Regions from separate parts of the Homo sapiens genome. Here region 2 is linked to region 1. Evidence: promoter capture Hi-C in human tissues and cell types (Jung and others, 2019). All regions are on one chromosome and are shown on one strand. The core of a region is centred on a gene start or on the middle of the fragment in contact, and the rest is flanking DNA. Distances in the headings are between cores, read along the strand shown.

The links. The method cuts DNA at HindIII sites, captures the fragments that hold promoters and counts their contacts. A contact is called where the count stands out against the background at its distance.
Region 2: a contact is called between a fragment that was not itself captured here and the fragment with the promoter of BPIFB6 in region 1, in 2 of the 25 tissues and cell types used here (lymphoblastoid cells and spleen).

The regions. Positions count from the first base shown.
Region 1 is chr20:33,030,166-33,033,976 of GRCh38, reverse strand. It overlaps BPIFB6 (BPI fold containing family B member 6), which reads right to left and starts at 2,329. Exons shown (of 15, transcript NM_174897.2): 1 at 2,233-2,329; 2 at 894-993. The coding sequence starts at 2,329. The HindIII fragment of the contact is 18,408 bases long and covers 1-3,811 here.
Region 2 is chr20:33,249,428-33,253,042 of GRCh38, reverse strand. The region is part of intron 1 of LOC105372593 (a long non-coding RNA gene); the gene reads left to right. Among named protein-coding and RNA genes, the nearest start is that of BPIFA1, 15 kb to the right of the region's middle. The HindIII fragment of the contact is 7,810 bases long and covers 1-3,615 here.

The DNA of each region.
Region 1 (3,811 bases), core at 1,080-3,579:
TGGGAGGTGGGACACATGGCTGACTCTGTGTGACCTTGGGCTGTGTCATTTCCTTATGTGGGCCACAATTTCCCCATCAACAAAATGGGAGGCTTGCTTAGATCAGGGTTTCTCAAAAGTGGCACTATCCACATTTTGGGCAGGATAATTCTTTGTCATGAGGCTGATTTGTGCATTATTGGATGTCTAATAGCATCTCCGACCTCAGCCCAGTAGATGCCAGTAGCATTCCCCCAGTCCCCGCAACTTGTGACAATGAAAAATGTCCCTGGACATTGCCAAATGTCTTCTTGGAGGCAAAATCACCCCTGTTTGAGAATCACCAGTTGAGATCCAGGGTAACAAAAGATGTGGCACACATACCCCCACTTGCCCATCCTGAGCTCTTGGCAGACATTGCTAGTTGATCACAGTCCTAGTTCCTGCCGAGTGCAGACAGTGCCTCAGAGCCCTCCCAAGTGCATCGTTTCAGGCAGCCCCTACTGATCAATCTCATGTGGCACTGGCAGAGGAACCAGTTTCCTCTTGTCATTAGATGATTGTTGATGCCTTTCCAGCTCTACCATTTGAGGATGTTTTCATTTAATTTCACGTACATTCAATGAGTTCATGTTGCATGCAGAGTTGAAATTTGACTTTCCAACCTCATTTCCTCCTCAAAATGACCCTGCTCACTACAAAGCAGAAATTGTCCCCAGTGAATGGCTGAGGAGGTCCAGGCACAGGCAGGAGCAGTGACCTACCCAAGGCCACACAGCAAGACAGCACAAGGCAGGGAAGAGACCCCACATCCCTCACCAGCTCCATTACCTGGCCTGCTAAGATCTTGGGCACAGCAATCCCCACCACCCTCTGCCCTAACCACCACCCTCCAGCTCCCCTCCCCTACTCACTTGGTGATGCCCTTGATAGGTTTCATCCCTGGCTGTTTCTTGCCTGCCTCGGCTGCCATCTTCTCCAGGATATGACTCTCATCCATGGCGCTCTGGACCTCTGGAGTGGAGACACTTAGTTGGAGAGATTTTCCCTGGGCCAATCACTCAGGTATCCCAGGCCACTCACCGTCACTGTGCCCCACCCTGGGCTGGACGATGGCAGAGACCCAGAGATGAGTCCCACAGCGCCCCAGCCTAATGGGGGAAGATGGAGTCACCAGCAATGACAGTAACAAGCTGTAGGAGCCGCACGAGGGTTTAGGTAGGAAGAGAAGAGCTGGGGAAGGCTTCCAGGAGGAGGTGACAGATCAGTTGGTACTTGAAAGGGGAATAGTAATTTTCAGCAGGAAGCAAAGGGATAAAAGATATCAGTCTGGACAGAGGGCACAGCAAGTGCAAAGGTGGGTGGGAGAGAAGGTGGCACAGTTGGGGGAAGAGGATAGATTCAGCATGGCTGGAGGGTGAGGACAGACACGACAGAGAAACTGGAGCAGTTTGCAGGGGGCATGTAGTGAAGCTCTTGAACCCTAGGGTACTGACTTTATCCTGTGGACCAGCCACTCCCAAGCCTAGGTGATTAGGGGACTCCTCTGGGGACTTGAATGCAGACTTTGGGCCTGAAGCAGAGAAATTCTGATTCCCCAAACCTGGAGGACCCAACCCCAAGTAACACCCCGCCAGAAACACCTCCATTATGGTCACAAGCTAATTCCAGAGAGGGCACAAACACTGAGCTGGTAGAACAGTCATTAGCCTTTTGTACCTGGATGTGACTCGGTTTCCCTTGTGCTAGTGGAGTGGGGGATGGAGGTGGAAAACACATTTTACTAAGGTCTCCTCCAAGAGATTATTCTATCCTGCTAGGGACAGACTGGTCACCCTATTTTACATTTCTTTACATTTCACCTTTACAGATGAGCAAACAGCAACACAGGGAGGCCAAGTAACTTGCCTGAGGTCACACAGCAAGTTGTTGCTGGGATTTGACCCTTGTCTGTCACTCCCACAGCCCACTTGTGGCTAAAACCCCTGCCATCAGGGCCAAGGAGAGACTCCAAAGGAGCAGGATTTTCAGCTCTGCCTCTAACTTGCAGGGGGAGCATGGGAAAATCATCCCATTTTCTCTGGTCCTTGGTTTCTCCCCTCTGTAAAGTGGGAGAATAATAATAACACTTGCTTATAAGTTTACTTGGAGCTCACGGGATGCTCCAGGATGTGCAACCAAGAGCAGTGACTACCTACCACCTACCCCAAGCACCGCCTCCCAGCTGCACGCCCGGGCCCACAAGCTCACCACGGTTCATGATGTCCATGCCCAACCGCAGCAGTGCCCCAGGGTCAGCTCGCGTGCCAGTCAGCAGGCTGCAGAGTGCCAGGCACAGGATCCGCAGCATGGCACCACCTGTGCCAAGGGGCCTGAATTGGGCGCAGCCCACCAGACCCTGGTCCCCTTGGGGACCTTCTGTCTCAGAGCAGATTGAGCCCCCTGGGTGTTTCTGGGGTCCAAGAGCCTTTAGACTCCAGCCAGTTCAGCAAACATGAGCACTGCCCTCTTCCAAGGGATTGAGGAACCCCCAGATTAAACACAGGGCCTCCAGCCACCCCCAGCTAGCTCATTTCCCTCTGTAAGCCTCAGTTTCCCCATGGACATGGTGTGTTCTGACCAGCCTGCAAGATGGGGTTGGAGGAAGGTTCAACTGCAGTTTTTCATGGGTTCAAGGACGGCTGAATGCTGGAGCCACAGAGAGAGTTCCAGACTTTCCTTGAGCCCCACACGGCATTGTGGGAGTGGGGAGCCCTGTGTCCCCACCTTGACCCTACAGCCAGGGTCCCTCCCCACCTCTTCCAGCTCAGCTCACTTCCATGTGGAACTCAGAAAGCTCAACTCTGAGCCCTGAAAGGCCTCTTGAGACATCGCCTCTCCGATAGAGAAACTGAGGCACAGACATTAGGTCTCCTAGCATAAGGACCTCCCACCCCAGACCTTTTCAGGTTCCCAGGAAAGCCCTACCCCACCCCGGGCCCATAGAAATCCTTCCCTCTTACTTACCAAGATCTGAAACTCTTCCAACCAAGGGCCAAGTGTATATTTCAGTTTTGAGCTTTGGCTGAAAAGAATGAAGGCAGGGCCCATGGGAGCAGGGCCTATGTCCACCCAGAGAGAGGAGGTTCCCACCAGACTCTCTCTTGCTCTCAGCGGGCTAAGTCACTGAGGGCTCACCTAATGCACAAACTAAGATGGGCCCTTACCATGGGCCTGCCTTCCCAGTCCAAGCCAATGCCTGCATTCATTCACTCATTCACTCATTCATTCATTCGGCTCACATCTATTGGGTGTCTTCTCTGTGCCAAGCAGACCGGGCTTGTCTCTTTTATCTCGGTGGCAGAGACAGCCCTGCTCCTCCTAAATCCTAAAGTCTGGCAGGGAACGAGAAGCAATAGGGTGGGATATGGGATAAAGGGGTCAGGGACGGACTCCTTATGGAGGAAACATTTAGGCTGAGACCTGAGGGATGAAAAGGAGCTTAAGTATCGAGAAGTGTTCAAGCCAATAGTCAATATTCACTAAATGGAAGATATATCTGGGCTTAAAATAATCCACAGTAGCGCTTCTCGACCACTGTGAATGCACAGGTGCGTGCCATGACGTGTGCTCATGTCCCGGCACACCCCATGTCAAATCTCTTTAAAAATCATCCCCAAAGGGGCTGTGAAATTCTGAGCCAGGCAACAGAGCTGGGAGGGGCTTGGTGAAGGTCTCCTCCAGCCCCAGCCCCATCTCACAGACGGGGTGACTGAGCCTCACCCCAGTCTCCCGTCCCCAGGCCAGAACTGATGCCAGGTGTTAGGGTCACTCAGGGCAGGGTCTTTTTTTG
Region 2 (3,615 bases), core at 721-3,220, 220 kb before region 1:
TTTCTGTAATTTTACTGATATTCTTTATTTGTGAGACATCATTCTGATATTTTCCTTTAGTTCTAAGCCATGGTTTCTTAGACATATGTTCTTTGAACACATTTTAAATTTGCTGATTTAAAGTCTTTTTCTAGTAAGTTCAACGTCTGAGATTCTTCAGAGATAGCTTCTATGGCTGTCATACTTGGGAAGTCATACTTCTTTCTTTGCGTATCTCATTTTTTTATTGTTGTTGAACACTGGTATTTTAAATAATATAACATGGCAGTTTCAGAAATTGGATTCTCCCTCCACTCCAGAGTTTTTGGTTGTTACTTGTTCTTGTAGTTGTTTGTTTACTGATTTTTCTGAACAAATTCTGTAAAGTCTGTATTCTTTGTCATGTGTGGCTACTGCTGTGTCTGCTTAGTTAGCTTACTGGTCAGCTAATGATTGTGTTGGGAAAACCAGTCTCATGCATGCAGCCTTTCGACTCCCACTCAGTCATATAAGAACAGGTCTTGGGCTTGGAACACTTCCTTACCAAGAGATAAAGGGCTCACGTGGCCTGTTCCAGGCCCTGCATGGGAATATATTTCCCTGTTTTAGATTCAATGTGTGCCCCTTTGTTCTGCTTAAGTGTATATGTCAATGGCCCTCAGATATGCCCCCAGCTTTTGGTATTTCTAACTCCACAGGAGAGGGGTCAGAGTCCATCCGTGGCATGAGAGGGGTGTCCATAGCCAATTGCCTTGCACTGGCTATTGGGGGGATCTGCTGGCATGGGGGACAAATGCATACGATTGAAGCTGATTTTGCTTTGTCTCTTCTCTACATAAGTAAAGTGTTATATTTTCCTTGGTGACTCCCATACCAAGATAAAATGGGCAGAAGTGTTTGGAGCCCTCTCCTAGGGTTGGTAACCTGTGCATGGTGTTCCTCTCCCCTGGGACTGGTCACTGGTGCAGGACGTTCAGCTTAACAGTTTGACATAGTGTGCAGGGTTGCCAAGGAAATAGACCATCACATGGTGGAAAGGCAAGGGCTTGTCAGCCCCATTGCCCAAGGTGGTACCAGCTCCTCTGAGGGGTCATAGACTGACTGAGGTGCTCGCTGCCCAGGGATAAATGGAACATAATGTCAACTCCCATGGTGTCCCAGGGACCACAGATGATGTCTGGGGGGAATGGGGGGCCCTGTGCAGGGAATCCTGCCTGGTCCAGGTTGCTTGCAGGCCTCAAGTAAGGCCTGTTTCCAAAAAGTGCTGAACAACAGAAGGCATTGCTGAAAACTAGACTATTGAAATGAGGTCATTCTCTGAAGAGGATATCTGACAATAAAAGGGAAAATGTGGACAAAAGCCAGAAAGTCTAATACAGCCCGGATGGTGTGTTTGTTTGATAAAGGGATATTGCAGACTCAAATGTCTCAGGTTGAATGGCACAGTTAGGAATGGGGCCAAGGCTCCTGGCTTCCCACTGGAGACCAATGATCTTATACCCCTGTCAAGATAAATGGGAAAAGAAAGAGATTCAGACTTTTCTGGGGCTCGTGGATACTCGTTCCCATATGACAATATTTCTGGATTTCCTTAGGGGAAAAATTAAACTGATGTCATTGGATGGTTTGGGGGTTAACATGGTGATCCATGGTGCTTACCTGCTTGTGGTACTTATGTGCTTGCGAGTGAGGCTCTTTGAGCCATTTTGAGTGCTGGTGACCATGGTTCCTTGTGTCGAGTGCATTACGGGCATTGATATTTTGGCTGCTTGTAGCACAGAACATCACCACTGCCTGAGGGGATATTCCCCCTCACAGCTGAGAATTTGAGCCGTAACAGTGAGGTGTGTCCACTCTACCTGCCACTTAAATTCTCCAAGCCTCAGTAGGTTATTCCACAAATACAGTACTGCATACCAAGTGGAGAAGAGGATATTACTCTGTGAATTTGGGATGCGCTTCTGTAGGAATGTTACAAACTACCCTGTCAATGTAACAGCTCAGTCTGGCTGATTGAAAAGCCTCCAGGGTATGGTGGCTGATGGTAGACGGAATGCAGGCTGAATGTTGGGGTTTGCCCTGGGCCCATGAGGTGTCAGATGTCATCACTGTCACTGAGGCAGTGGGAACCCTTACTGGAGATTAGCGTGCTGTTATTAACTTGGTTAGTGCTTTTACTCAATCCCCTTGTGACCAATTTGCATTCACAAGGAACTGCCTGCATAATACTTTCACTATTCTTCCTCAGGGATACCTCAATTCCCCTGCCATATGCCACCAGTGGGTGGGGCTTGACCCTCAACAAGCCCAAGTCCTCATAGAAGATTTAGTCATCCATTGCATAAATGATATCCTGATAGTAGGGCCTACTGAAAAACAGGCCATTGATACAATAACTGGTGTTGGCTGGACTATAAATCCAGATAAAGTCCAGGACTCAGCACAATAAGTGCATGTCCCAGGGGTCATTTGTATAGGAAACCAAAAAAGTATCCCCAGTACAATTGTTGGCCCTAGTGACATCCACTAATAAACAGGAGGCCCATTAGCTGATAGGCCTATTTGTATACAGGAGACAGCATATGCCCTGTCTGGGTGCTCTTTTGGCCTTCCTCGTCAAGGTGACCCACAAAACCACCAGTTTTGAATGGGGCCCCTTGCAGCAGCAGGACTTGGAAGTAGTTCAACAAGTCATGGCTCAGGTACTGCCTTTGGGACCTTTGGAACCTGCTAGCTCAATGGGACTCCGTGCGTCCATGACCGCCAAGCATGCTGATTGGAATCTGTGGCAACAGGAAACTGCCACTGGCGTGCACCAGCCTCTTGGCTATTGGACACATGACTTGCCTGTGGTGGCCACCAGATACACCCCCTTTGAAGGGCAACTCCTTGCTTGCTATTGGGCACTAGAGGAGACTGAGCATTTTATGGCAGGAGTGCCACCTGTGATGCTGTAACCTGTACTGGGGTGCTTACAAATCCCACCAATAAAACCGGACAAGCTCAACAGAGCTCAATCATTAAATGGAAATGGTACATCCAAGTCAACTAGGACAAGTAGACTCCATGAACAAATAGCCAGCTTCCCAGAAGCACCAAGCAACCCACAGGGAGATGCTCTGAACCCTCCTGTGGCTACCTGGGACCCAAGATTCAAAGATGTGTCTACTGACTATATGACCTGGTTTACTGATGGCTCTGCAAAACTAAAGGCAAATGGGGTCCACTGGGCTGCAGCTGCCCCTCAGCCAGCAGATGGCCATCTTTTGGCTGGGATTGGAATTGGACATTCTGCCTAATGAGCTGAATTATGTGCAGTGATGACAGCTGTGGGGGCCATTCTACCACCATATCTTGTTACATTTTCACTGACTCAAGGGCCATTGCCAACAGCCTAGCCATCTGGTCAGGAGAATGGTAACTGAGTGACTGAACCATCACAGAATCCCCTGTGTGGGAACAAAAACTATGACAGCAGCTTGCTGCCTGGAAGGAGACAAATGTTTGTCACTCCTGTGGATGATCATAGCAAAGGACCTTTTAAAATGGAATGTGGACAGAAGTCTTGTGCCAGTTAAGCTTGTGCCCCACAGCCAGCAACAATCGACAACTGAAAGTCCACCGCTATGGTTTGGA